Linked DNA regions of Homo sapiens: regions 2, 3 and 4 are each linked to region 1. Evidence: promoter capture Hi-C in 16 types of primary human blood cells and fetal thymus (Javierre and others, 2016). All regions are on one chromosome and are shown on one strand. The core of a region is centred on a gene start or on the middle of the fragment in contact, and the rest is flanking DNA. Distances in the headings are between cores, read along the strand shown.

What was found. Contacts are between HindIII fragments. The CHiCAGO score rates a contact against its expected background, and 5 or more counts as called.
Region 2: the fragment with the promoter of LMBR1 here is called in contact with the fragment with the promoter of PAXIP1-AS2 in region 1 in 2 of 17 cell types (activated CD4 T cells and M2 macrophages); the score reaches 5.4 in activated CD4 T cells.
Region 3: a fragment that was not itself captured here is called in contact with the fragment with the promoter of PAXIP1-AS2 in region 1 in 1 of 17 cell types (total B cells); the score reaches 7.2 in total B cells.
Region 4: a contact is called between a fragment that was not itself captured here and the fragment with the promoter of PAXIP1-AS2 in region 1, in 1 of 17 cell types (M2 macrophages). The highest score is 7.7, in M2 macrophages.

What each region holds. Positions count from the first base shown.
Region 1 is chr7:154,922,639-154,929,766 of GRCh38, reverse strand. PAXIP1-AS2 (PAXIP1 antisense RNA 2) reads right to left here and starts at 1,250. Exons shown (of 8, transcript NR_024476.1): 1 at 1,000-1,250; 2 at 743-811. RefSeq lists enhancers at 620-839, 990-1,089, 1,110-1,169. The HindIII fragment of the contact is 7,419 bases long and covers 1-2,575 here.
Region 2 is chr7:156,887,305-156,894,432 of GRCh38, reverse strand. LMBR1 (limb development membrane protein 1) reads left to right here and starts at 1,250. Exons shown (of 17, transcript NM_022458.4): 1 at 1,250-1,505. The coding sequence starts at 1,440. It overlaps LOC102723795 (a long non-coding RNA gene), which reads right to left and starts at 1,035. Exons shown (of 4, transcript XR_928253.3): 1 at 770-1,035. RefSeq lists silencers at 1,029-1,608, 1,659-2,158. The HindIII fragment of the contact is 17,725 bases long and covers 1-7,128 here.
Region 3 is chr7:156,630,892-156,638,019 of GRCh38, reverse strand. All of the region lies in intron 1 of RNF32-DT (RNF32 divergent transcript), which reads left to right. It also overlaps the pseudogene RPL26P23. Among named protein-coding and RNA genes, the nearest start is that of RNF32-DT, 6.1 kb to the left of the region's middle. The HindIII fragment of the contact is 249 bases long and covers 3,865-4,113 here.
Region 4 is chr7:156,476,271-156,483,398 of GRCh38, reverse strand. RNF32-DT (RNF32 divergent transcript) reads left to right here. Exons shown (of 4, transcript NR_026865.2): 3 at 1,779-2,734. Among named protein-coding and RNA genes, the nearest start is that of LINC00244, 61 kb to the left of the region's middle. The HindIII fragment of the contact is 1,553 bases long and covers 3,823-5,375 here.

The DNA of each region.
Region 1 (7,128 bases), core at 1-2,500:
TTCTGTCTATATTATTCCTGCCTGGATGACATAGTGAGGTCTTCACTGCTGGAGAAGGGAGGGCTGGTGGGCCAGAGGGGAGACCCTGCAGAGGTGTGCAGTGTCCTTCTCTGCTGTTCATCTCAACCCGCTGTGTTAGGAAACCAGGAGGAAGCCCTACCTGGAATGAAACAGGTGCCTAGAATGAAGAGGGTAAGGACAAGGTTTAAGACTGTGACACCTGTTGCTTAAGAGACGCATTTAGGAGTGTGGCATGTAGATCCCAAATGTCCGTTTTGTAAAAGTTGTTGTTATTGTTTCACTTTTGTTGTTGTTGTTTGTTTGTTTTGAGATAGAGTCTCACTCTGTTGCCCAGGCTGGAGTGCAGTGGTGCAATCACAGCTCCCTGCAGCCTCAACCACCTGGCTCAAGCACTCCTCCCACCTCAGTCTCCCGAGTAGGCGGGGCCACATGTGTGCACTGCCATTCCTGGCTAAGTTTTCTTTTAATTCTTTGTAGAGACAGGGTTTCCCTATGTTGCCCAGGCTGGTCTTGAACTCCTGGCTTCAAGCAATCCTCACACTTCAGCCTCCTAAAGTGCTGGGATTACAGGCGTAAGCCACCACGCCCAGCCTGTTGTTATTGCTTTGAAGGAGTTCAGGAAATGCCACCCCCATGGCACTTGGGAGTGCTGATCCCTGTGAGCTGAGGGCACTTGGGAATCAGCGGATGCAGGCAGAGGTTTCCTCTGAGCTCCCCTTACCTGCCTGAAGACGGATCCTCCAAAAGGAACTCAGCTGTCATGAATCGCCTCCCCAGGAATCTCGTCAATCTGGGAGGATTAACACAGATCACAGGAGAGGACACTGGAGGTGACATCAGCCCAGATGACTATCACCCGTTCTCCCGAAGGCGGCTCTGAGATGTTTACGACCTCAGAGACATTTCATCCACAGAGCAGCACAACCTTTACTCACCAGACAGTCCCTCCCCAGGCTCTCCCATCACTTGTGTTCTCACCTCCCCTGGAAGCCCCGGGAACTTCGAAGTAGGCTTCTGTGGACTCCTGCCACTTCATCAGTAGCTGGGGCCCTGGTACCAGCACAAACTGCTTGCATCCAACTGACTTCACCAGACATACGGGCGTCTTTGGTAAGACCGCTCTCAGGTTTTGAATCTCCCAGGTTTGGGCTGAGATTCAGATTTTATTTAAGTAAATGAATTTCATGCTCAGTGGGACTGATATTGAAGCCGCCATTTAGGGCTTTAAGGCAGGAGTTTCGCGTCATTTCTCTAAAGATTCTGCTATTGGCAGGTTTGTGGTTTCACTTTTCTATTAGGTTAAGTTTTCGTTCGTCTTACTTGCTCTTTTGTAACCTTTTCTCTCATTGGACATTTTACTTGCTCAAGTTTGTAACCTTTTCTCTCATTGGACATTTTTTTACTTGCTCAAGTTTGTAACCTTTTCTCTCATTTGACATTTGGTTAAAGAGAAAGCAGTTTTCTTTGTAAAAGGAGAAAGTGAATGTTTGTGGCTTAAGCCAAATTTGTGGCTTTAAACCAGCCAGGCTTTGGATCTTGGTTAACATTGAGATTTAAAGTTTCTTCCTGAGTCACCCAAAATTTGTAAAAGGTTGGAATGAGGACGTGATAAGCTGAAGACAAAAAGGACTCTTTCTCCCAGCTGAAAGGCACCTTAGGCAATGGAGGTAACACAAGGGTGTGGAAGCTCACAACAAACCCCAGAGAAGAACTCACAGGGAGAGCTGCTTAACCCCCGGGGCACACAACACACAAGGGGTTCGTCACCCAGTGCCTTGAACTCCCAGAAATGTCTGGGTTTCTCTGAGGTAGGTAAGAGGGAAGAAGCTACTTGTAGGTGATACCTCCAGGAATAATCCCTACTAAGCAGCACACTGGACCCCAAACACTTTTCCCTTTTAGCCTTTGGGCATTTTAAAAGAGAATCCAAATTATGAGCAATTATCCATCTATAACCAAGCCCTCATTAAGCAATGCACCTTTGGAAACTCCAGCGGGGTTTATGTACAAGACTTATGGCGCCACCTCCTGTCGATAGTTGGAGAAATGGTCTTATTTGACCTAAGAAGATCCTAAATTACAATGATCAAAGAGAATTATCTTTGAAATAGCTAGATTAGTTTATTTATATGCACAATTTTAAAAAGCCAGCTATGGAATCAAATAAAATAATTAAGAGAGTTACTTCCAATGGCACCCAGAAGCATCCAAAAGAGGTTTTGACAGAATTCTTCCCTTAGAGGAAGAAAATAAAAAGCACTCTAAAACCATTACTGAATTTTAAAAAACACTGAAATGTCTTCTTCTCTCCCTGCTCCCCTGTCTCTCTAAGCCTCCTTGTCAGAACTACCCAGCCCTGATTGACCTTCTCCTCCTCCTCCTCCTGCCCCTCCTCCTGCTCCCACTGGTTTGGCTCCATTTCATCCAGCATCTGGTAGAGGGGAACCTGCTTTATCAATCATGATCAAACTTACAGGCATAGTTAAAAGAATTCCTTGATCTTCACCAGGTTCCTATTGGTTTTGCTAGGAAATTTGAATTAAATATCCAAGCTTATGACCCTAGTTATTCTGACTTCTAGCAACAGATTCACATGTTAGTAGCAAAAATTAAAGCTAAAGGCTGGCTAGACAAAGCTCACTGGAGAAATCTGTTAGGGATCTTCATAAATGTTCAGAAGAGGACCATAGACAGGCTTGAAGAACAGCAAAGGCTTTGCATCAGGCTATCTCCTCAGTTTTTCAGAGTAGTCAACTGGAACAAAATACAATATCAACAAAATTCAGATGAGTCAGTAATATACTTTGAGGGCTGTGGAAAAAATTTTAAAGAATATTTAGTTTTATCCGAAGAAAGCTGTGCTAATCATCGAAATGATACTCGACTCCAGTTTAACAAATGAGTTAGATGAATTGGAACTAACAATGAAAAGACAAAGTTGGGCCACTTCTGATACTCATGATTTGGTCAGTCTCATTGACCGGTTATCTGATACCTTAACTGAAGAAGAAAGAGAGAGGGAAGCCAAACAAAAGAGCGAGGCTAATACAATTATGAATTTACAATTAAAACAACTATTCACACAATTTTGGCCTTCACAATACCCCTAGAAACTCCCTAATGGACCTAACCTTCCACTTTGCAATTTTTGCAAAAAGCATGATTACTTTCAAAAGAGTTGCCAAAAATGAAAAAGGAAAGAATGTTAACCAGTGGAGGCAGAAAAGAAAACAGGGGTGCTCCAAGGAACTTAAAGGGGCCTTTCATTTCCTCCTTACTAACACTGGGAGAAATAAAAATTATTATAAATGGAGAACTAACACAAGCACTTATTGACACTGGAGCCACATTATCTGGAATTAATCCCATCTTGGTACAAGGTCCCATTCCTTGCAGTAAACAAAGAATTCAAATGGTGGGCATCACAATCCTCCTGTATTGGCATACCAATCTCAGCCTGTAACCTTTCAACAGTGTTCGTTACAAGGAACTCATGCCCTCCTCTTTGTTCCATCAGACCCCATCCATTCAACAGGAAGAAACTGCTTAGAATTATGTGATACCCACATTTCTTTCTCTCAAAGGAAGGAAATATATTTAAAATTAGATTATAAAACTCAACTTTGAGACACAACAGATATTTTAATAAAATTTTCAAAATCTAATCCAATTGCAATCCATATTGCCATGAAAGACAATGAATTATTGCTTAATGAAGAATTACAAAATGTACTAAAGACAGTACTTGATCCATTGTGGTCAGTGTCCTCCATTGATATAGAAACTATCATCTCAGCTACTCCAATAAATATTTAAATATACCCATGGAAACATCTTCAAAATACAAGACAATACCCCTTGAGAACTAAAGCTCTAGGAGGGATAAAGCTTATAATGTCAGATTATATAGAAAGATGACTGTTCATTCCTTGTACAAGCCATTGTAATACCCCAATCCTCCTGGTAAGAAAACCAAATGTTAGAGAATGGAGGTTTGTACAAGACTTGAGAGCAATAAACAACATGGCAATCCCATGGCACCCTATACTGCACAAGCCTATGTTACTCACAGCCATTCCTTCTAATGTGGAATTCCTTACAGTCATAGACTTATGTAGTACATTCTTTAGCATTCTTGTAGACAAAAATAGCCAATTTCTCTTTGCCTTCACTTGGGAAAACAGACAATACACTGGGTCACACAGGCCTCCAAGGATATGCTGAAAGCCTGACTTACTTTTCAAAAATATTAAAAATAGGCCTCTCAGATGTTAATTTCCTGGAAATGCATACATTAATCCAGTAAATAAATGACTTCCATCTTGGAGAGCAAACAAGATGTTCTGTGAATGATGGGCTACATTTATTACAAAAGGCAGCCCTAAGAAAACAAAGTCTCTAAAGAGAAACTTCAATTTTGTCGAAGACAAGTGATATACTTAGGCCACCTAATATCCAAGGAAGGATGTTTTATTAATTCAGACAGACTAGAAAGGATCTCAGCTTTTTACAACCAAGAATGAAGAGATGGTTGAGTGGGATTTTAGGACTGGCAGGATATTGTAGAAATTGGATTCCAAATTTTTATTTAAAAGCCCAATCCTTATATGCCCTCCTTTTTGTTTTTAAGACAGAGTCTCACTTGGCTAATTTTTGTATTTTTACTTGAGACGGGGTTTCACCATGTTGGCCAGGCTAGTCTTGAACTCCCGACCTTCATTGATCCACCCATCTTGGCCTCCCAAAGTCCTGGGATTACAGGCATGAGCCACTGCGCCCACCTTCCTTATATGCCCTCTTAATAGAGAACTTTAAACCCTCTAGACTGGATAAAAGAAAGTCAACTAACATTAGAAATGACTAAGAATGGTCTTGCCAATGCCTCTTCTTTGGGGCATGTAAATTATAACCTCACATTTTCATTGTTTGTACATGAAAATGATGGAAATGCTTTAGATAATCTGACTCAGAAACATGAAGGCTGAAATAGACCTGTAGGGCATTACAGCCAACAGTTAGGCCCGGTAGCCAAAGGATTGCCTCTTTGCATGAGAGATATAACAGCAACCACCTTGTTCATTAAGATGACCCAAGGAACTGTGGTGGGAACTCCCCTTACTGTTTTTATCCCTCATTCTGTGGAAGCATCACTAAACTCACACCACACTGGACATTATTCAATTAGTAGACGAGCTTCACATGAGTTTTACTTCTTTCAGCTTCTCCTATCACCATCTCCAGGTGTAACCTAAATCCTGACACTCTTCTGCCTTCATTTTCAGATGAAACACTGCATAATCACATAGCCCCAGTTGATTGGCTCCTCTTTCCTAGGACTGACTTGCAAGAGACTCCACTGATTAATGCTGATGTTGTTTGAGTTACAGGCAGCTCTTATTTAAAGGATGGATCAGGGACTTACCGAGCAGGTTACACAACAGTATCTTCAACTGAAGAAATAGAAAGGCTTACCTTCCAGAAGCCACCTCACATCAACAAGCAGAATTGCATTGATCAGGGTTTGTCAGTTGGCGAAAGGAATAATTGTTGATAATATTCATTACTAATATTCAGTAAATATGCTTTCAGAGTAGCTCATGATTTTGGAATGCTATGGAAACAGAGGATTTTTCACCTCTTCTGGTCAATCCATAAAAAATGGACACCTCATTTCACAATTGTTGGGAGCCATATTATTACCAAAGTCACTGGCCATAATTAAAATTCCAGGCCATTCTAAATCAAACACTCCAGAAAGCAAAGGAAATCAGCTAGCTAATAAGGTAGTAAAAAGAGCTACTGTAAATGTATCTAAACAAGAAAAATAATCTACAGTAATCTTAAAAGAAACACCTGCATTTGTATAAAATTACCTCAATCTGGGCTCCAAAACCAGAACATAAAAGTTGGAAAGCAAAGAGGGGGAACATACTCCCCCAAAGACGAGGTATGATATGGATCAAACAACATGCTTCTACTTCATGCTGAATTTTTGTTATCATTTCTAACTTATGCACATGACATAACTCCCCAGAGCCTGACAGAGTGATTGCTTGAGGGAAACGATATTTTGGAAACCTTCTCTGACTGTAGCACACAGGATGTACAGTTGTTACCTTTGCCCCCAAAATAATCCAGGGAGGCCTCTGTCAAAGTATGGCAATTACATTCCGTCCAGTTGCCGCTCTCACAAATATACACATATATTTTGGTAATGATTGGCATGTTTTCTCATTGGGTGCAGGTGTTTCTATGTAGAAGAGCAATGACCTTAGGGTGAGTACAATTCTCTTAGAAAACATTATTGCAGCCTGGGGAGTTCCTCTGGAGCTTCATAATGACAGAGACACTGGGATCACTGGATAAGTCATCCAACCAGTACGTTAAATTTGGCCCATTCTCCAGTATTTCCATTGTGTTGACCACCCCCAGTCATCTGGGTTAGTGGACCACACAAACAGAATAATCAAAGCTCAACTGGCAAAATTAATGGAGGTCTTTCAAATTCCTTGGCTAAAAGCTCTTCCACTGTTTCTGCTTAATCTGAGGTCGATCCCTTTTGGTAAACACCAGTTATCTCCATTAAAAATTACAGCAGGCAGATCTATAGCCTTTAATAGTAAAGGAGACATATTTAGCTATTGCAATGGCTTAATGAGGCAATTAACTAAAAATTATGAATCGGTAGAAGAATCTTTTCACAGTGAGCTCCTGGGAGAAGAAAACTTCAAAGACCATGGACTTGACCCACGAGATTTCATCTATTGGACACAACATTTCTTAAATAACTCTCTTCAACCAAAATGGTATAGACCTTATTGAGTACTGCCTGCTAAACTTTGTGCTGCTGAAGTAGAAGGCAGTTAACACTTCTCATCTAAAGAAGACTATTAGTTCGTTCTTGCATTGCTATGAAGAACAACTTGATACTGGGTAATTTGTAAGGAAAAGAGGTTTAATTGGCTCTTGGTTCTGCAGGCTGTACAGGAAGCATGGCTGGGGAGGCCTCAGGAAACTTTCAATCACAGTGGAAGGCAAAGGGGAAGCAGGCATGTCTTACATGGCCAGCAGGAGGAAGAGAACACAGGGAGGTGCTACACACTTCTT
Region 2 (7,128 bases), core at 1-2,500, 2.0 Mb before region 1:
AGATTCATAAAAATCTAAACAACGGCCGGGCGCGGTGGCTCAGGCCTGTAATCCCAGCACTTTGGGAGGACGAGGTGGGCGGATCACCTGAGGTCAGGAGTTCAAGAACAGCTTGGCCAACGTGGTGAAACCCCGTCTCTACTAAAAATACAAAAATTAGCTGGGCGTGGTGGCGGGCGCCTGTAATCCCAGCTACTCGGGAGGCTGAGGCAGGAGAATCACTTGAACCCAAGAGGCAGAGGTTGTTGTGAGCAGAGATCGCCATTGCACTCCAGCCTGGGCGACAAGAGTGAAACTCTGTCTCAAAAAAAAAAAAAACAAAAACAAAAACTAAATGACATTTGAAAGCAATTTGTAGATTTTCACACTTCCTAAGAATTCTCAAAGATGCCAAAAACAAAAATCGCAGCCACTAGCAATTTAAATGACTTCCTCGTAGCCAAATAAATCCTAAGGTAAAATTATAAACATTCCCTTAAATTCAAATTTTATAACAAAAAGAAAGATAATAGGGAACGGAGGGTGAATTATTGTGTTTGATATATTTGGCGGTGAAAAATACATATATTACGTGCTGTTTAGGGTCCACTGAGAGTCATAAAACTGACCCTAGTGACCGAGCTACCGGAAGGACTTGGCAAGGGTCTAGCGAGCTCGGTTATCTGCGTTTTCCAGGTGGGGCAGCCCAAGACCCTTCTCAGACCCAGAGAAGCTGGGTTTCCGCCCAAAGCCCGGCCCCAAACCACCGATTTCCGACCTTTCAACCTACTTTGGCAGAGCAAGAGTTTCCGCGGGAGACTCCCTGCTTCCCTCTGCCCAGGTCCCCTGAGGCCGAGTGCGGTACTGAGTGCTGAGTAAGGGGTGCCGAGTGCCAAGCACTGAGTAACTGGGGGAGGGGAACCATGCAGCTGTCATAAATAATTAGCTCCTGTGAGGAACAGGAACTCCGAGACTGCGGCCGGGCCAGGTGGGCAGAGGTCGCAGCGCCCTCGCCGCGTTCCCCGTCCCCATCCGACGCCAGGACAGCGCCTCCTTAACTGGGGTAGCCCCTGAGAGCGTGGGCGGAGCCCCGCCCCGCGACCTCAAGGCCCCGCCCCCTCAGCGCCTCCCGGCCCAGCAGCTCGGAAGACCGCGAGGCGCGCTTTTCTGACGCATCGGCGCCTTTCGTCTGACGTATGCCTGCACCGCCCCCTCCCCTCCCTGCCCCGCCCCCGCCCCGCCCCCGACTGCGCGGCGCCCGCCCTCCCTTAGTCAGAGCTGCTCGTCTGAGGCTGCTGAGGCGACGGCCGGTGTCGTGGTCGCGGTACCTGTTCCAACACGGCTCGCGGGCCCGTGCCGGCTCCGGTCCCCGGCGCGGCTGTCCGAGCCCCTGCGGCGGGCGGACGATGGTGTGGCGGAGCACGCGGACGCGGGCGGCGCGGCGGCGGGCATGAAGGAGGATGGAAGGGCAGGACGAGGTGTCGGCGCGGGAGCAGCACTTCCACAGCCAAGTGCGGGAGTCCACGGTGCGTGGGGACCGAGGCAGCCCTGACAGTCCCGCGTGCCCGCCCGGGCCCTCCGTCCCCGCCCCCGGGCCCCCGGTCCCCGGACCCCTCACCTCCGGGCCTCGCCTCGCGCCTCCCGCCCCGGCCTCTGCCGCTCTCCCTCCCCACCCCTCCTCTCCCCTCCCCTCCCCTTCCCTCCCCACCTCTCCTCTCCCCTCCCCTCCCCTTCGCTTCCTCTGCCTGCCCCCCCGCTCCGCTCTTGCCTCCCCTGCCCCCTCGCGCTCCCTCCGTTCGAGCCCCGACCCCGCCCCCGCCCCGCGGCCTCGGTGCTGCCCTTCCCTTCCCGCGGGGAGGGCTGCGGTGCGCGCCGCGCTCTGGGACCCCAGGGGCTTCCTCTCTGGGCGGGTGTGCGGCTCGCGCCTCGGGGTGTGGACGGCGGCCCCGCCAGTGCGCGCCCCCGCGCTCCGCCGCCAGGCCAGGTAGGCAGGTGGATGCGCAGGCGTCCCGGAGAGCCTGGGTGGGCCCGGCGGGTCCGGGAAGGGCCGGGCTGCGCGGAGCCCGCCCGCCTCTCGCGTTTGGACCCGGCCGGTTACCTTGTCCCGGTCAACACCTCCTGCCCTCCTGGCGCCTCACGTTTCCATCCCTCTTTCATCTCCCCCAGCCCCCACGTGGGTTGAGTTCGAAACCTTACCGTTTGGGATGAGAATATTGGTTATTTTTGGGAGTGAGGACCTCAGCAAAAGTCCATTTTGCTATGGAAGCAACTTCTTAGGGAAGCAGCTTCTTTTTTGGCCCATGTTCCATGTGTGCTGTTGGCAGGAGTCAGGAAGCGGACTTGACCTTGGAAAGTCTACTTTGATGTTTTTATCTTTTCATGATGCTCTAGAATGTATTGTAATTGGGTTTATCTGTGTTTTCATAACTGTTGTAAAATATGTCAATTTTTTATGTTTATATTTACGCCTCTCCTAAGTTGTCTACGATTCAGTCACACTTGGTTTGAGGTGAAAAAATTCTGCTTTAGAATTATCTAATTTGTGTACTCACTGATCTTGAAAATTGAGAATCACTTTGGAAGTCATACTTTGAATAAAGAGGACATATAAAGTCTGAGCTGGTGGAATTTGAGTTAGTGGAATTTGGTACACATTTAGTTGTAATTTTTATAATTGAAGCTAAAATACACAGAGATAAGTTCATGTAATCATACATGTACCCTTCAGATCATTTCATACTAAACACGCCTGTGTACTCCTGAATCCACCAGGAGTTTGAGACTGGTCAGCCTGGGCAACATAGTGAATCCCCATCTCTACCATTATAAAAAAATAAATAAATAAACACAATTTTACTAGGATCCCAGAGACTGATTCCTTTCCCTCTTCCAATTACTTTCTCCTCCACCAAGGGTAAACGTTGCCCTGGCTTCTAATATCATAGATTAGTTTTTGCTTAGTTTTGAACTTTATGTAAATGGAATCTTACCGTATATACTCTTCTGTGTCCAGTTTCTTGTACAATGTTTGTGAAATTTCTCCATGTTGTATGTGGTTATAATTCATTCTCGGTGCAGTAGTTGTGTGACTATAGCACAATTTATTTTTCATTTTACTGTTGATGGGCACTTCAGTAGTTTCTAGGTTTTGGCTATGAATATATATATGTGTATATATATGTGTATGTATATATGTGTGTGTGTGTGTGTGTGTGTGTGTATATATATATATATATATATATTTTTTTTTTTTTTTTTTTTTTGTGATGGAGTCTCGCTCTGTCTCCCAGGCTGGAGTGCAGTGGCACAATCTCGGCTCACTGCAACCTCTGCCTCCGGGATTCAAGTGATTCTCCTACCTCAGCCTCCTGAATAGCTGGGATTACAGGCACACACCACCACACCCAGCTAATTTTTCTATTTTTATTAGAGACGGGGTTTCTCCATGCTGGCCAGGCTGGCCTTGAACTCCTGACCTCAGGTGATCCACCTGCCTTGGCCTCCCAAAGTGCTGGGATTACAGGCATGAGCCACCACGCCGGGCTGGCTATGAACTTTTTGTACATAGCTTTTGGTGGACATGTTTGTGCATTTCTGTTGGGGATAGCCCTAGGAATGGAATCCCTAGGTTAAAGAGTGTGCATTTGTTCATCTTTAGTAGATACTTTAAAACAATTTTCCAAAGTGGTTGTACCAGTGTACACTTCCGCCAGTACTGACAGTCTCAGAGGTGTGGTTGTTACTCATCTTTATCAATACTTGATATTTTCTGTCCTTTTTAATTTTAGTCATTCTAGCAAGTGTGTTATAGTGTTCATCATACAAATAATTTTAATTTGCATTTTCCTGATAACTAATGAATTTGAGCACCTGTTTGTTTATTAGCCATTTGGAAATCTTGTGAAGGGTCAAATTTTTTTCCCCATTTAAAAATTAAGTTTATCTTTTTAATATTGATTTGCAAGGTCTTTACAGAATAACTTGTATTATATTGTTATACAGGTGGATATGATTTCTTTGTCAGAAATATATACTGCACATATTTCTTTCCCACTCTGTGGATGCCTTTCACTTTTAATGATATCTTCTGATGAACAGAAATTATTAATTTTAATATAGTTCAATTTATTAAAATTTTTTTGAGTACTTTTAATGTCCCGATTAAGAAATCTCTCCTTACTCTAAGACTGATGTTCTCTTCTTCTTTTCTCTAAATGCTTTATTGAATTACTCTTCTCATTTAAATTTGCAATCTATTTCGAATTTATTTTTTTGTGTCTGGTGCAAGGTAGGAGTCATATTTTTTTCTCCCACAGGAATGTCCAATTGCTTCAGCACTATTTAGGACTTTTGTCACAGATAGGTAACTGTATATTCATAGGGTTTAATTTTGGACTTTATGTGGTTTTATTGGTCTATTTGTCTTTAGTTTTATTATTTTTTAAAATTTGAGACAGGTTCTCCCTCTGTTGACCAGGCTGTCGTGCAGTGGCGCAATCATGGCTCACTGCAGCCTTGACTTCCAAGGCTCAGGCGATCCTCCCACCTCAGCTTCCCAAGTAGCTGGGACTACAGGCTTGAATCATACAGGTGTGCACTAACAGACCCAGCTAATCTTTTAATTTTTTGTAGAGGTGAGGTCTCACCGTGTTGCCCAGACCTGTCTCCTGGGCTCAAGTGATCCTCCTGCTCTTTGGCTTTACTTTTAATTAATTAGATATTCTAGAATTTGGGTTGAGAAAGGGACACATTGTAAAACAGTCCAGAGCTTCGTCTACTCCCCTGAAAACGGTTTTGGTACCGATTATGGAGTTCTTTAGTTCTGACTCTCCTCACCTGTTTCCCTCAACCCAGTACCCCTGGCTGGTTGAGTCTACTCCATCTTCTACAGAACCAGCGCAGACAGTGACCAGGCTCAGGGTTCCCAGTCTTTGGCATTTCTTTCTCAAATGATTTATATTTAGAGTGAATGTAAATACTTTTTCTCTAAGACCTGTTGCCAATTTTTAAAATTATTCAATTCTTTCTGATTTTGCTACATAATGCTATAATTGCTTAACTTTTTTATCATAATAAGATATATATATATAACATGCAATTTACCATATCTAAATATACAGTTCAGTGGCGTTAAATACATTCACATTGTTGTGCAACCACCACCACTATCCATTTCCAGATCTTTTTCATCAACTGAAACTTGATACCCATGAAACAGTAACTCTCCATTCTTCACTCTCTCCAGCTGCTGGTTCTGCCTATATGAATCTGACTATTCCCAGTTGAACCATACAATATTTGTCCTTTTCTATCTGGCTTATTTCACTTAGCATAATGCCTTCAAAGTTCACCTGTGTTGTAGCATGTGTCAAAATTTCTTTTTCTTTCTTTTTTTTTTTTGAGACAGAGTCTTTCTCTGTTGCCCAGGCTAGAGTGCAGTGGCGTGATCTCGGCTCATTGCAACCTCTCCCTCCCTGGTTCAAGCAATTCTCCTGCCTCAGCCTCCCGAGTAGCTGGGATTACAGGCATGCGCCACCGCACTTGGCTAATTTTTGTATTTTTAGTAGAGATGGGTTTCACCATGTTGGCCAGGCTGGTCTTGAACTCCTGACCCCAGGTGATCCACCTGCCTCAGCCTCCCAAAGTGCTGGGATTACAGGTGTGAGCCACTGTGCCTGGCCTCATTTTTTAATTTTTTGTAGAGATGGGGTTTTTGCTATGTTGCCCAGGCTGTTCTTGAACTCCTGGCCTCAAGTGATGCACCCACCCTGGCCTCCCAAAGTGCTGGGATTACAGGCGGGAGCCAACGTGCCTGGCCCAGAATTTGTTCAGGCTGAATAATATTTTCTTTTTGTGTATACTGTATTTTGCTTACCCATTCATTCATCAATTGACCTGAGTTGTTTCTGTTTTTGGCTATTGTGAATAATGCTGCTGTGATCATGGGTATGCAAATATCTATTAGAGTCCCTGCTTTCAATTCAGAAGTAGAATTGCTGGATCATATGATAATTCTATGTTTAATTTTTTTTTTTTTTTTTTTTGAGACAGAGTCTCGCTGTGTTTCCCAGGCTGGAGTGCAGTGACTCAATCTCGGCTCACTGCAAGCTCCGCCCCCCCGGTTCATGCCATTCTCCTGCCTCAGCCTCCCGAGTAGCTGGGACTACAGGCACCCGCCACCACGCCCAGCTAACTTTTTGTATTTTTAGTAGAGACGGGGTTTCACCATGTTAGCCAGGAAGGTCTTGATCTCCTGACCTCGTGATTCGCCCGCCTCAGCCTCCCAAAGTGCTGGGATTACAGGCGTGAGCCACCACGCCCGGCCTCTATGTTTAATTTTTTTGAGGAACTGCCATACCATTTTCCACAGAGGCTGTACCATTTTATATTCCCACTAGCAAGGAGCCAGAGTTTCTGGTTCTTCCGCATCTTCACCAACACACATTGTTTTCTGTTTTTCTTCTTTTTTTTAAAATGGATGTGAAATGGTATCTGATGCTGGATTTGATTTGCATTTCCCTAATTATAAGTGAAGTTCAGCATTGTTTCATGTGCTTATTGACTATATGGACATCTTCTTTGGAGAAATATCTGTTCTTTGCCTGTTTTTGAATTGAGTTGCTTGATTTTTGTTGTTTAGTTTTAGGAGTTCTTTATATATTCTGAATATTAACCCCTTATCAGACATGTGATTTGCAAACACTTCTCGCCCATTCTGTAGGGTTGCCTTTTTACTCTATTGCTAGTGTCCTTTGATGCACAAAAGTTTTTAATTTTGTAGTCCAATTGATCTATTTTTTCATTTGTTGCCTGTGTTTTTTTGTGTCATATCCAAGAATTCATCACCAACTGGCATCATCACCAACTGGCATCATGAAGGTTTTCCTCTAAGAGTTGTATAGTTTTAGCTCTTAGGTTTAGGTCTGATCCATTTTGAATTAATTTTTTTGTACAATATAGTGTTTAACTTTTTTTTTTTTTTTTTTTTTTGAGATGGAGTCTCACTCTGTCGCCAGGTTGGAGTGCAGTGGCACAATCTCAAGGCTCACTGCAACCTCCGCCTCCCGGGTTCAGGCAATTCTCCTGCCTCAGCCTCCCGAGTAGCTGGGACTACAGGCGAGCGTCACCACACCCAGCTAATTTCTGTAC
Region 3 (7,128 bases), core at 2,740-5,239, 1.7 Mb before region 1:
GCAACATTCTTGGATAGGGATAATTAAAAATATAGTCAACCTATCTTGTCCCCAAAACCATGTTATCAATGATTTGTATTTTAACATTATGCCTTTTGTTTTAAAAAAGTTTTTTTGTTTTTTTGAGATGGGCCTGAGAAACTGCATGTATACAAAGCATGTTTACATCTTCAGAAAACTGCTATTGAGTACATTCTCCATGGTGCTGTTCAGTGCCATTTGTGTAAGCACCCACATGATTGTTTTAGAATTTCAAAACCACTAATTGAATGTCCTAGGAATAGTGGAGACGGAAGAGAAAATTAGAGGTGCATGATGTTAAGGATGTTGAGGTGCTTAGTCACAAGGAGAAGGGCACCAGTGTACTTGGCTGATTAAGATGCACTTCTGTACTCCACTGTGCTTAAGAAGAAAGCTGCGGGTGGTACTCTAAGAGATCTGTTGTATAAACATTATCACAAAAAGAGTGATGATACCTGTGCTTATCCAAGGAAGAGCAGCCCAAGATGGATGGCAATAGCGGACTATTTAAGTGGAAGACATTGATATGAAGGGAAAATCTTATATTTTGCTTGTGTAGAGCGCAATTCACAGAAAGTGTTCAAATACTAGAATAGGCAGTTGGAGTCCAGCTTGTGGAAGATGGGGTTTTCTTCATGATGACACTAGAGATCATGATATTGGATACTAGTGCTGGCCCTGTATTTTTATTTATTTATTTATTTATTTATTTATTTATTTATTTATTTATTTATTTTGAGACAGAGTCTCTGTTGCCCAGGCTGGAATGCAGTGGCGCCATCTCGGCTCACTGCAACTTCTGCCTCCCAGGATCAAGTAATTCTCCTGTCTTAGCCTCCCGAATAGCTGGGATTACAGGTGCCCGTCACCACGCTTAGCTAATTTTTGTATTTTTTAGTAGAGTCGGGGTTTCGCTATGTTGGCCAGGCTGGTCTTGAACTTCTGACCTCAGGTGATCCGCCTGCCTCGGCCTCCCAAAGTGCTGGGATTACAGGCGTGAACCACCGTGCCTGGCCTATGGATTCTTAATGTATCATACCCATAATATTTGAATTTGCCCACCTGCCTAGTCTCTAAACACTGCACTAATGAAAGCCTAGGCAGGGTCAGAATGGTTCTTAGTTCAATATCCTTCTCACATTTTAGTATCTTAATGCTCTCACATTTCTCCTTTGTTATGTACAAAATATTCTCAAAGCCTACTCAGTGCCTATTTGACTCTTGTCTCTCTTAACACAGTCCTTGACATCTAAAACAAACCTAAGGAGCAGAAATTGGTGGCATGGGGTTCATCTTTAATTTAGTTCTCAATTTTAACCTTCACCAAAACCATCTCTCCATTTATTTTTCTTAATCTTCTGTATTACCTTTAACTTTCTACTCACACTTGTATATTTATTTATTTATTTATTTTTTCTTTCTTTATTATTATTCTTTAAGTTTTAGGGTACATGTGCACAATGTGCAGGTTAGTTACATATGTATACATGTGCCATGCTGGTGCGCTGCACCCACTAACACGTCATCTGGCATGAGGTATATCTCCCAATGCTATCCCTCCTCCCACACTTGTATATTTATTATCAATTTCTATTCCTAACTTGCTGATGTGGTTTGGCTGTGTCCCCACACAAATCTCACCTTGAATTGTAGTAAGTAATCCCCATGTGTCAAGGGCAGGGCCAGGTGGAGAGAATTCAATCATAGGGACAGTTTCCCCCATACTATTCTTGTGGTAGTGAATAAGTCTCACAAGATCTGATGGTTTTATACATTGGAGTGGCCCTGCGCAAGCTCTGTCTTGCCTGCTGCCATATAAGACCTGTCTTGCTTCCTGTTCCACCATGATTTTGAGCCCTCCCAGCCATGTGGAACTGTGAGTCAATTAAACCTCTTTCCTTTATAAATTATGCAGTCCCGGGTATGTCTTTATTAGCAGCATGAGAACAAACTAACACCCTTGCTTCCACCCAGATTATTTTTTCAAATAATTCTAAGTCATTGCCTATATTATGCAGTATGTGATGTCCAGCAATTGTTTGGAAATTTGCCAATCTCTCCGAGTGTTTTGTAGCAGCAGTTGCTGTAAAGACTCAGGTATACTTGTGGGAACTTACTGAAGTGTTTTTTTTTTTTTTTTCCTAGAGATTATATTATAGTTCTGTTTTGTCTTTAATAATGAAAAAGGGCTTAGGATGAGTTGTTTCCACTCCTCTGATAAAATGCATTTAAAAAAATACCTGTGGCAGACATATCATGATGACATCATTCCTGTCAACATTAAAATAGTAGTAGAGAAACACTGATGAAAACACTTCCGACACTGGAGAAGAGAGGAGAAATCTTGTTTTCATTCTTACTCTATAATTTAAAGTCACGGGTATAACAAGCGAGCCTTTAAAAACTGTTTTCCGAATTAAAAAATGGAGCAAATTCATTCTTTGTTGTTGAATTCAATATACTTAGAAGTAATTTATCACTTTGGTAAAGAATAATGTCCTACTATGCCTTAATATCTGACACGATGGAGATATTCTTGCTATCTACACTGTGATCACCAGATACCAGACACTTCAAAAATGTTGCCAAAAGCTGTTAGGCATACTGATTGTATGAAAGGTGTTTGGGTAATGTGGACTCCTTTCAGACATTTGTGATTTTTCTGCCTTAATTGAAAGTTTTGACAGGTTTGTAAAAGCATAAATGTCAGGTTATTAGTAGAAACTCTAAAATAACCTGGGAAATAAATACATATACTGGTTTCAACCACTTTGGCTAAAGCTGAATGTCTCTAAAAATTGAATCAGCTGATGCTCTAATATGTTAAATATATCAAGAGACAGGATGTTTCCTGATCACATCCAGATAATTTTTTTAATTAATAGATTTATTTTCTTAATAAATTTTACAGATAAATTGAACAAATAATACAGAGAGCTCCCTCTCCTTGCAACAGTTTCCCCTATTTGCCATTTGTATGCTATATTTGTTAAAATTGATGTACAATAAGGTTGTTCATGTTTAATGTTGACTATGAAATTCTCCGCAAATAAAAGTATACCCCACAAGTACACAGGAGAGACCCCTTCTGCAGTTCTATTCATAGAGGCACAAGCAAAGGAACTATTGAGAGATAAGAGTCTCATGATAGCAGAAAAGTATTGATCCATGATCTTGGGAAAGCTGTCCACATCTAGGATGCTGTCTGCTTTTAGGGAGAAACTTTCCTGGTTAGCTTTACCTTAAGGTCTCCAACAAGTGTATAGATTGAAGAGTCTGGAGGGGCCCATTTCAGCTGTGAGATTGTAAACCCAAGGCTCAAGGTGCTGAAGTTTTGCTGCAGTGTAAGTGGCAGGGGCAGTCTTTCCCTGATGATGTTTCCAGAAGAGTCAGTTTCTAGGCTTTAGATCATGTAGGGTTTGTCCTCAGTGGACCATGGAAAGCTTTCTTTACCTGGTGAAAATAGACTTGGGCATAATGCATTAAAGCCTGGCAGCACTTAGTCATATCAGAGCTTAGGAGGAGAAGATGTGTGAGGTTTTATTATTAGGAGCATAGGCCTTCAGTGACTATTGCATAAGGGATCAACTTAACGTTTTGCACATGGAAGTGGATCTGTCATCAATCCGCAGTACTTTAGACCAAGGAAATCCAGTCAATTCAGTTAGCTTTGCCTGATGTGATTGTACCTATGATACCTTATCTCATTGTTTTACAACTTGTCTGATGAAACAAGTACCTCTATCACTAGCAATCTTTCCAGGTATGTCCCATGAGAGAAACATGTTTCCTAATAACCTTTTGTCTACTGTTACAGCACGAGACTTTTTGAATGGAAAAGCTTCTATACAATCAGAAAACATGCATTGAAAATGGCAATGGAATGAAATCCCTCTAAAAATGTTTCAGTGGCCTATAATGTAGCAGAAATGTACATGAAGTTTTGATTGCCTTCCCAGGATTGTAGATTTGACAAACCAAACATTGGACATAAACTATTTTAGCAATTTAGAACATGCCAATATTCTATTTGGATCATCTTACCTCTTCCATGATGGGCCTTGGAGTGTAGAGCTTTTAGTAATGGAAGCTTTAAGGATTCAGGAAGGACCAGGCATCTGTCCAGGCTCCATGAGTCCATCCTTAACATTAGATTTATATCTTCCTTTTGTTTTTCATTTCAAGTTTTAAAGCTTGTATATAAGATTACTTTATTCCTGCATCTTCTCAATTGTTTCTTCCTTGTATTTGCCCTTTTCCTACTTGGCGAGATTTGGCTTTCTGTTCAAGAATCTTTTTGCGGTCTATGTCCAGTTTTAGCCTAGTGATAACCACCTTGCTGGGGTGAATGCCTACATGGACAGTTGTGCCATTAGCCTTTTCCCACTGCACCCGTTCGATGTAGAGGACATATTTCTTCCTGTAAACCTGGACTACTCTGCCAATTGGCTAACCTTTATAGTGTCCTCGTACAACCTGAACTTCATCATCCTTTTGGATGGGCATGGATCACACGTTGTACTTCTGTCTCAGCTCTTTGGAAAGAGGGGAAGACATAGTCTTCCTGTAAATGTGGGAAGGTGCATTGAAATGCCTTTTGTGGTTCTTGTTTCGGTTGGAAGTCGCAAAGGGATTGAACTTCATTTTGGCGATTGCTGCTTCAGTGATAGCTGCAAAATGGAAGATTTATGTCTTCTTAAATATCAGTTTTGTTTCTCCAATTCACGTGCATAGCACTGTTTATTAGATGGGTTATCATAGGTAAATTTGACTTGGATCATGGAATTCATCTAAACTACATATCAAAACAATTTCAGTACTGGCTGACTTAGCTTGAAGATCTGGCAGAGTAGTTCCTTGGTATTCAATTAATTTTTATCCTAATTGGATTATCAGTTTCATAAGCCAGTCAGTGTGTTCATTAGAGTGCTGGTAATTCATACCCAGTCTAAACGATATGATCCTAAAGACATCAGAAACTTCGCATTCAAGAGTGCTTGTCAGGGTCCTTTCCATCCTTTTCATGAATCTCCTTGAAGGCATGATACTCTAGGATTTTACTTGCTTATAAACTTAACATAGCAAATAATCCTGTTTCTCTGTCTTTTGGATGCTGCAGGGGCCCTCTGTAGCATCCCAAAGTTAGTTTGAGGTAACAACAAAAAAAGACAATTTGAAATTTGATTTTGGGAAGGCTGTCAAATATGTCAAAGGCTTAAAATAATCAAAATAGGATCACAAGGCATTGTAAGATAATATTCATTTAGCCAAAGTGATAAAAGGGGTTAGAAAGCAAAAACCTTTCTTCTTTGATAGAGGGGAGACTCAGTTTTCCAATCAACAGATCTGAGAAAGACAGCATGAGACAGAATCTGTCTCCTTCTCTCCTCTGTCTCTCTTTTGCAGTTTACTCAAAAGGTGAACAAAAGTCTTTTACTACCTCTTATTAATAATACTACATGAAAATTCTTGTTCAAAAGGGAAAACCAAATTTTACTTTTGCATAGTGTATTATCAACACTAAGCTAATAAAACCTTATAAACAGATCTGTCCAATTTGTCATCTTTTGACCACAGAAAATTTCCATAAACTTTTTATAATCTCTTACAATTTTTTTATTCTTTCCAACTTTATTCATTTATCTTTCTTTTTTATTCCTTCAATTTGAAACAATCTTCAGCTTCTAGACAAAATTATTTTTTTTCTCAACACACATTTTCATGCCTTTACAACTTTCCTTACCGAAAAATACTTTGCTTTTCTTTAGACACTATATACAAAATTGTTTTTTATATCTATTAGTTTCAATTACATATATTAACTACAGTTTTAACTACTAGTAACCCTAATTTCTAGTGAAAGCCTAGGAAGTAGTTTTGAACTGTTCTATATCAATAATTGTAGATGAAAACTATTTCATAACTTTTTAGATAGGTTTTCTCAAGTTTATTAATAGATGTAAATATATGTAGCTTTTCTATACCATCTAAAAATAAGATGCCAAAATATATAAACTTAAATTTATGTTTACTAATTAATGTTTCAGTATTTTAACTTACTTAGAAATGATTCAGACATTTATGCTTATTACTTAATTCAATATAGCATAACTTTAAGATTTTAAATTATGGAAAAGAACTTTGAAACAGGTACTCTCCTGCCAATGACACAGGTACTCTCCTGCTAATATTTTCCTCAGTTGTTCTGAGTCTCAAGTAGTCACATCGTATCCAGGATGGCTTTGAAGGGCAGGGCCTATTTGGGTCTTGAATTTACATACCAAATGTAGAGCTCAAGACAGAAGACACCTGTGAAGATGATGCCTGGGAGATCCAAACCCTTTCAGCATGGCTAGGAGACAAAGCTGGGCCAAGGAAGAAGGGGCTCATCTTGGGCTTGACTCTGCCTAGTAATTGGTGGTCTGGCCACTGATAACATGTCCTCAGGCCTCACTATGGCCACCTATCCAGACCCCAGAATCCAGAGGCTCAAAACCAAGAACAAAATATTACAGACAAATTAAGAAAGTATATAAAGTATTATAGAAGCAGCAGTTTTATGCCCTTAAAAACATGTAGAGATAGCATAAACCTATTTGACCAGTAGATCTAGCCAAAAATATCTGAATTATATTTAACTAACAATTCTGAAGCCATTTCTATCTTATCAACAATTTTAAAGCTAGCTTTATTTGCCAAATATTATACACATAATACATATCAACATACAGACACATGGAGAAGCAGAGCTTATAGCTTTTACAAGTAATTCTCATTTGCTGGCTTTCAAATAGTTTTTATTTCCCTATTCAGACTTAATCTTCCAATTACCTGTTTCATTGCCCTAAGCAATTGTTAGCTAGGCAGCCCTAAATTTGCATTTCTAGGGATGACTGTTAGGTGAAACAAGGTAGAAAATTTATATCTGAAAAGCTCGGAGCTGAGACTTTAGGCTTAAAGGAAAAAGATTGTACATAAAGGCATAGTTAAGACAAGATGACCAAGAAAAGTGCCATAAAGGTAATACTTGTTATGTAAATTTAAAATAATGTTAAGAGTTTTTGGGGTTGGGAGGTGGTACCACACACTTTTAAATAACTAGATCTC
Region 4 (7,128 bases), core at 3,350-5,849, 1.6 Mb before region 1:
CTGCCACAATTTGTCCATTCCCCAACTGAGAACACCGGAATTGTTTCTTTGACTATTGCAGACTCTCCTGCTATTCACACACTGAATGCTTCTTCAGGTGCAGGCGTGAGGCTTTCTCTGGGATATGTACCCTGAGGTGGGATTGTTGTGTCTAGGCAAACCCTCACCTTCACAACATGATAACAAGTTGCTTTCCAAAGAGGTTGTGCAAGTTTCTCTCTGTGATTCAAGGGTCCACATGCTCTCTAAACTTTGGTATTGTCAGAACTCTTAACTTTTGCTTGTAGAGTAGACATAGAGTGGGTCTCACTGTGCTCCGTTTACATGCAGCTGATGACCAGTGAGACTAATGTCTTTTCCCATGTGGACTGGATTTTCCCTATGGCCAGTTCTATCTTTGGAGTCAATACTGGCTTTATTTCTTCCTTTCCAAGCCTCTGACTTTAACACATTCCAGCTTCCTTATAGCGTTACCTCTGATGTCCGGGGCGGTGCTGACGGCAGCCACTGGGCCTATCTGGCCTGGGCCTGATTTGGAGGGAATGTTCCTTCCACGGTTTTCTCATGAAGAACGATGTTCATGGGAAGTATTTCATACACACTCTGCCAGACTGAAGACGTGTCCTTCTATTCCTAGCTTGGATGATGTTTGATGAGATCAAATGTGTTTTCTCCATTTGAGATAACCAGGTAATACTCTTTCTTTTTCTTTCTTTCTTTCTTTCTTTCTCTTTCTTTCTTTCTTTCTTTCTTTCTTTCTTTCTTTCTTTCTTTCTTTCTTTCTTTCTTTCTTTTCTTTCTTTCTTTTTCTTTCTCTCTCTCTCTTTCTTTCTTTCTTCTCCTTCCTTCCTCTTTCTCTTTCTTTCTTTCTTTTTCTTTCTCTTTCTCTCTCTCTCTTTCTCTTTCTATTTTGAGACAGAGTCTCACTCTGTCACCCAGCCTGGAGCGCAGTGGTGTGATCCAGCTCACAGCAACCTCTGCCTCCCAGGCTCAATCGATTCTCCTGCCTCAACCTCCCAAGTAGCTGGGATTACAGGCACCTGCTACCATGTCAGAATAATTTTTGTACTTTTAGTAGAGACAGGGTTTCATCATGTTGGCCAGGCTGGTTTTGAACTCCTGACCTCAGGTGATCCACCCTCTTCGGCTTCTCAAAGTGCTGGGATTACAGGCATGAGCCACCGTGCCCAGCCTACTCTTCTTTAATCTTTTGATATGATGAATGAAGTTCATGAATTTTCAAATATTAGAACACTCTTGAATTTCTAAAATAAATCAAACATGGCCATGGCATGAGGTATTTTCTTATTCACTGCTGGGGCCGATTCACTAATATTTCGTTTAGGATTTTGGCATGTATATTCATGAATAAGGTTAGTCTTGCCTCAATTCAACAGGAAGGTTACACTACCCTCATGGAATAAGGTGGAGATAGTCCTCTTTTTATTCCCTAGAAAAATAAGATTGCATGAGATTGCAATGACCTGTTTCCTGAAAATTTGTTAGGACTCACTTGTAAAAACTATCTTGCTTTGTGTTTTCTTTCTAGGAAAACCCTTAACTATGGCTTTGGTTTCTTTAATAGTGAACAGATTCTTCAGGAATTCTATTTATATTCAAGTTCTTCTAAGTTATACTATAAAAAGTTATCTTTGTCCACGTGTTCCCATTTTTGGCATTAAATCATTTTAAGAATTATATCTGGCATCCTGTTTCTTTACTCATGACTAACATTTCTTTGTTGTATCTTCTGTCTTTTTCTGTATCCGTTTCTCCAGAAGTTTTCCTATTAACTCTTTCCAAAGAACCTGTTGATGGTCTTCAGATTCCTGGAGGCATTTAGGGAGGGAGCAAGTTTGGGAGAGGAGTGAATTCACCTGGGCTGCAGCCCACTGCTGAGGACAGACCCTCCAGGGATACAGGTGTCAAGTCCATCAATGGGCTCTGACCCACTGGAGAAAGGGCAGCATCAACCATTGGCCAGGCTGCGGGACCAAAGCTGACTTATGATGGTGTCATCGGGTAAGACCTCGCCTGCCCTTGGATCTCTCCTGCCTCCCACAGCCCCTTGAACCCCAACAAGAAAGACATACTTGGTGGTGGCTGATGGCATCAGGCACCTAAGCTGCCAGCTGGAGGAGGAGCGTCATGAACCGTGGAGCTGCAGCAGGAGCTGGGTGGCCATAGCGGCCTTGGTGGGGTGGCAAAGGTCGATTTATTCAGGGCAGAGTTTTTGGTGTCTGGAGCAGACTGGGCATTTTAAATTGCTGACTTTGGATGCATTTGTTGACTTCACGTGGCCAAAGCGCTTCTTATTTCCTGGGACTGATTAGAAAATGTATACGTCCCACCTGGGTTTTCATCCAGGGACAGAGAGTGTCCAGAGAACAGGTTTAAAAGGGACAGTAGGAAACAAGCCAAAGCTGTCTCAGGTTACATCCAGAGCACCTGCCTGCTCCTCACGCAGCTCCTCAGACGTCTCCACCTAATCACAGAATGACGGAGCCTCACGTTTCCTCTCATGGCCACCAACGCCGTGGGGCAGCCAACTTAAAGAATGTCTTCACTTCAAGATGGGATACAGCCTGAAAACACGAGCAGCGAGTGTAAAATGGGTGGAAGAGGTATGGCTAAGCCTTTCGAGGTTGGCACTGGGACAGCAGTGGCACCTCCTCCTGACACATCTCTGAAGGTGAAGGCTGGGCTTCCACGGAGCATGCGGATGCCTAACGTGGTGTGTTTTCTTACTTTTTCGTGAGTGAGGTTGAATTTACTATTTTCCCTGGCCCGCGCTGTTTCATTTCTGAGGGTGCTTTTGCGACAGTGTCTGCTATGGAGCAGTCTATCAGCAAGGATGATGTGTTATCTCTCCAAAAGCTCAGATGCTTGGCATATGTCTGCACAATTTAAACATTAGTAACCAATTAGCTGCACAGAACCCATTTTTATTTTAAAAATGTCCTACCATTATTTCATTCCCTACTTTAGGAAATTTTGGAACTCCCAAATAAATAGCAGTCAGATATTTTGAATGATAGTGTCTCCGACAGGAAACTAGCCCGAGAAGTTCTTTACCCACTAAGAACATCTCTAAGTCACCCTGCAGATTCTGTTTCTATGTCTTAGAATATCTTTTCCCCTAGGGATTCTGCAGTAGCTTGTGCACCCTTATTTGGAAGAAGCACTTGCCAGAAAGTGAACCGGGTAAAGTACAACTCAATTCTCCTTCACCCTTCTTAGAACCTCATGTGTCCTGGAATGGAGCTTATTGGCTGTTACTTGGGTTTGGGATTCCCTTTTGAGCAATTCTCTATCTCTGGAAACTTTCAGAATCGCATTCCCTAGCCATCTAAACATACACACACACGCACACTCTTACACACTCATCATTGTGACACTGAAAGGGCTGAGTGTCTGACCACACGCTTCAAGTGTTCAAGATAACTATCCCCACCCCAACCTCCCCCTTCTCTCTCTCTTCCTTCTTTCCTCCCTCTGTCTTCATCTCCTTCTCTCTCTCTCCCCTCCTCTTTCTTTTTCTTGTTTCACTAGCCCAGCCATTATGCCTCTACTTGCCCAAGAGAGTGTCATTTAAAACACTGTCAGTAAGAGCTGCACGTTATTACTTAATTTGGGGGATATTGCTACATCCTTTGCTTTAAGGGAAGTGTTAACTGATGTTACAGTGCTAATGATACAGGTCTGCCTCTCCCAAAAGAATTATAGATCAATAAATTACAGGGTGAATTATAGAACAATTATAAAATAATTTACTACAGTGTTCCTTCAAGGGTTGATATAATAGATTTAATTTATAAAGCTTTGTTTTTTCCCTCTTTTCATAACTATTGAGTAAAACAACAGTAGCAGTCATGATGGCGAGTATTATATTCCAGTGAATATCCAACGATACCACCAATCAGTAATTCCATGCTTAACTTGTGGGGAACAAGCTATTCTCCATAGCAGCTGTACCACTCTGCATTCCTGCTGCACTGTGTGAGGACCTCCATTCTCCATGTCCTCACCGACACTTCTTTCCCAGTTTTTGATTATAGCATCCTAGTGGGTGTGAGGTGCTATCTTACTGTGGTTTTGATTTGCATTTTCCTAATGAGTAATGACATTGAGCATCTTTTTATTGTGAATTACATAAAATTGGAATGGAAAAATAAATAAGAACTGTAGATGCAGCATTTTTTTTTCTCTCTCTCACTTTAAATTGATTTCCCTCCCTCTCTCTGTCAACACACACACCCCTGAGATGGCAGACCTTTTGGCTAGAAGGGCTCTGTGGGGGTCGTTTAATCCACACCCTCGGCTCAGGGGGCCCAATTCAACACACATTTGTTGGGTGCTGGGCCCTGCTGGGCCCCACAGTGATGCAGAAACAAGATAGGCTCGGTTCATGCCCTCAGAATTGACAGCCTAGTGAGGAGAAAGCCCTCCAACCGGAGTCACACAGATAAGCAAGGAGGTGAGTGTGCAGCACACAGGTCAGCTGTGGACCAGGGTGGGGCACAGGCCTCTGTAGGAGCACATAGGCAGTCGCATGGCCTGCCTGGTGGGTCAGAGAGGGCTGCTCTTGGGGGTGACTCTCAGGCTCTGACACCTCCGAGACAGCTGGGGCTGGGGGTGGGGGCAGCCCTGGCAAAGGTGCCAAGGCCCGCAGCGGGCAGGGAGGACGTGGTGGGTGCTGGAGGACACAAGGATGAGCTCGGCTGGCAGCCCCGAGGCTGGCATGTGAATTGCAAGGCAAGGGGAGCCGGCAGCTGGGGAGGGTGGCTGGGATGAACGGACCTCAGGCAGCAGGAACGTCTGACCCAGGAGGCCTGCCTCGGGCTGGGCAGCACCCAGGGCTTCCTCACCTCCTGAAGTCACTGCCTCCAGGGTCAGCAGAGGCAGAGCTACCAAGCCCTGGTCCAAGGCCCTGACCTGGGGTTCCTGGGTGAGCCACTGGACTCCCTGTGCCTCAGTTTCTTTACTGGGACATGAAGAAGTAGTTTAGGACCATTATAGCCTTCCCACCCTGCCATTCGGAGAATCTCTGAGGCCGTCGTCCGAAGCGTCACTATCAAACACAACTTTGTTACCTCCTTTATCCTCACTTCCATCTCAGTCCTCCTGGCTCGTCCCTCACAGAAAAGAATTTTCTCAAGAATTCAGGCTTGGACAACATGGGATCCAAAGATGGATCTTTTCAGATCTTTTGTCCATTTTTAAAAATTGGGTTGTTTTCTTACTATTAGGTTGTTTGAGTTCCTTATGTATTTTGGGGACTAACCCTTTATCAGATGCACAGTTTTGCAATATTTTCTCCCATTCTTAAGTTGTCTCTTCACTCTGTCGATTGTTTCTTTTGCTGTATGGAAGCTTTTTAGTTTGATGCATTCCGATTTGTCTGTGTTCGCTTTTGTTGCATGTGCTTTGAGGTCATATCCAAGAAATCACTGCAGACGCCCATGCCTTGGAGTTTCCCCCTGTGTTTCCTTCCAGTAGTTTCATAGTTTTGGGTCTTACAGTTAAATCTTTAATCCATTTTAAGTAGGTTTTTCACATGGTGGGAGACAAGGATCTAGTTTTATTCTTCTGCATGTGGCTATCCAGTTTTCCCAATATCATTTTTTGAAGAGACTCTCCTCTCTCCATTGGGTGTTCTTGGCATGTTTGCTAAATATCACCTGGCTATAAACACACAGATTTATTTCTAGGCTTTCTATTCTGTTCTATTTGTCTGTGTGTCTGTTTTTGTGCTAGCACCATGCTCTTTTAATTACTATAGCTGTGTAGTATATTTTGAAGTCAGGTAATGTGATGCCTCCAGCTTTGCTCTTTTTGCTCAGGATAACGTTGGCTGTTCTTTTGTGGTTCCATATAAATTATATATTTTCTATTTCTGTGAAGAATATCGTTGATATTTTGATGGGGATTATATTGAATCTGTAGATCACTTTTGGGTCATACGGATATTTTAACAATATTATTCTTCCAATCCATGAACATGAATATCTTTTTATTTCCTTTTTAGTGTCTTTCATCAATGTTTTATAGTTTTCAGTGTAGAGATATTACACCTCCTTGGTTAAATTTATTTCTAATTATTTTATTTTTTGTAGCTATTGTAAATGGTGTTGTTTTCCTCATTGCTTTTTCCAATATTTCCCTATTAGTGTACAAAAAGGCTCCTGATGTTTGTATGTTGATTTTGTATCCTGAAACTTTACTGAATTCATTTATTAGTTCTAATAGTTTTTTGATGGAGTCTTTAGGGTTTTCCATAGATATGATCATGTTGTCTGCTAACAACAATAATTTAACTTCTTCCCTTCCAATTTGAATGTCTTTTCTTTCTTTCTCTTGCCTAATTGCTTTGGCTAGGATTTCCAGTACTACATTGAGTAGAAGTGGTGAGCGTGGACATCCTTGTCTTGTTTCTGATCTTAGAGGAAAAGCTTTGAGCTTTCCCCTGCTGAAGTTTCTTGAGAAGGAGAGTGACATACATTTCACAAAGGAAAGCAAACCCTTGTGGTCACAGACAGGGATTCTGGGCTGGGAGCCCTGTGCACTTCCCCACGGTGTTCTTGGGACCTGAGAGAGGCTGCCTGATCATGAACCTACTGCTGGACGAAGCTTTAAAAATCATACAGAAACATGGATGATGCCCCCCAAAGTTAAAAATGAGGTGGACTTATAGGTAGTTGAAGACTGCAAAGCCTCTCAATATAATTTTCTGAAGCCCTTTTTGTAATACCCATGCTAAACCTTCCTGTTGTCCGTGCTTTTCCCCATGCAGGGACGTGCTGTGGGCAGGGGTTGGAGATAGAAATGGATTGACTTTGGCTCCATGACTCGCTCACTGGGGAAGTTGTAAGCTGGTTGCTTGGAGGAGACAGAGGGCTTTGCAGAGAGAAAAACCTGGTGTGGATTTTTGGTGCTCTCAAAGCCATGTTGGATTCAAACTCATTAACCACTCTTCCCACCTCCTCTAGTGGAATCTGGCACCATGAGAGATGGACACAGAGTGGTTTCTTTTGGAGGAGAAGGAAGGTGGGATTTGGGATTCTCCTCTGCCTGAGTAGGGCATTGATGGGACCCTGAGGACACAAAGCATGGGTGTCTCCCATGTGG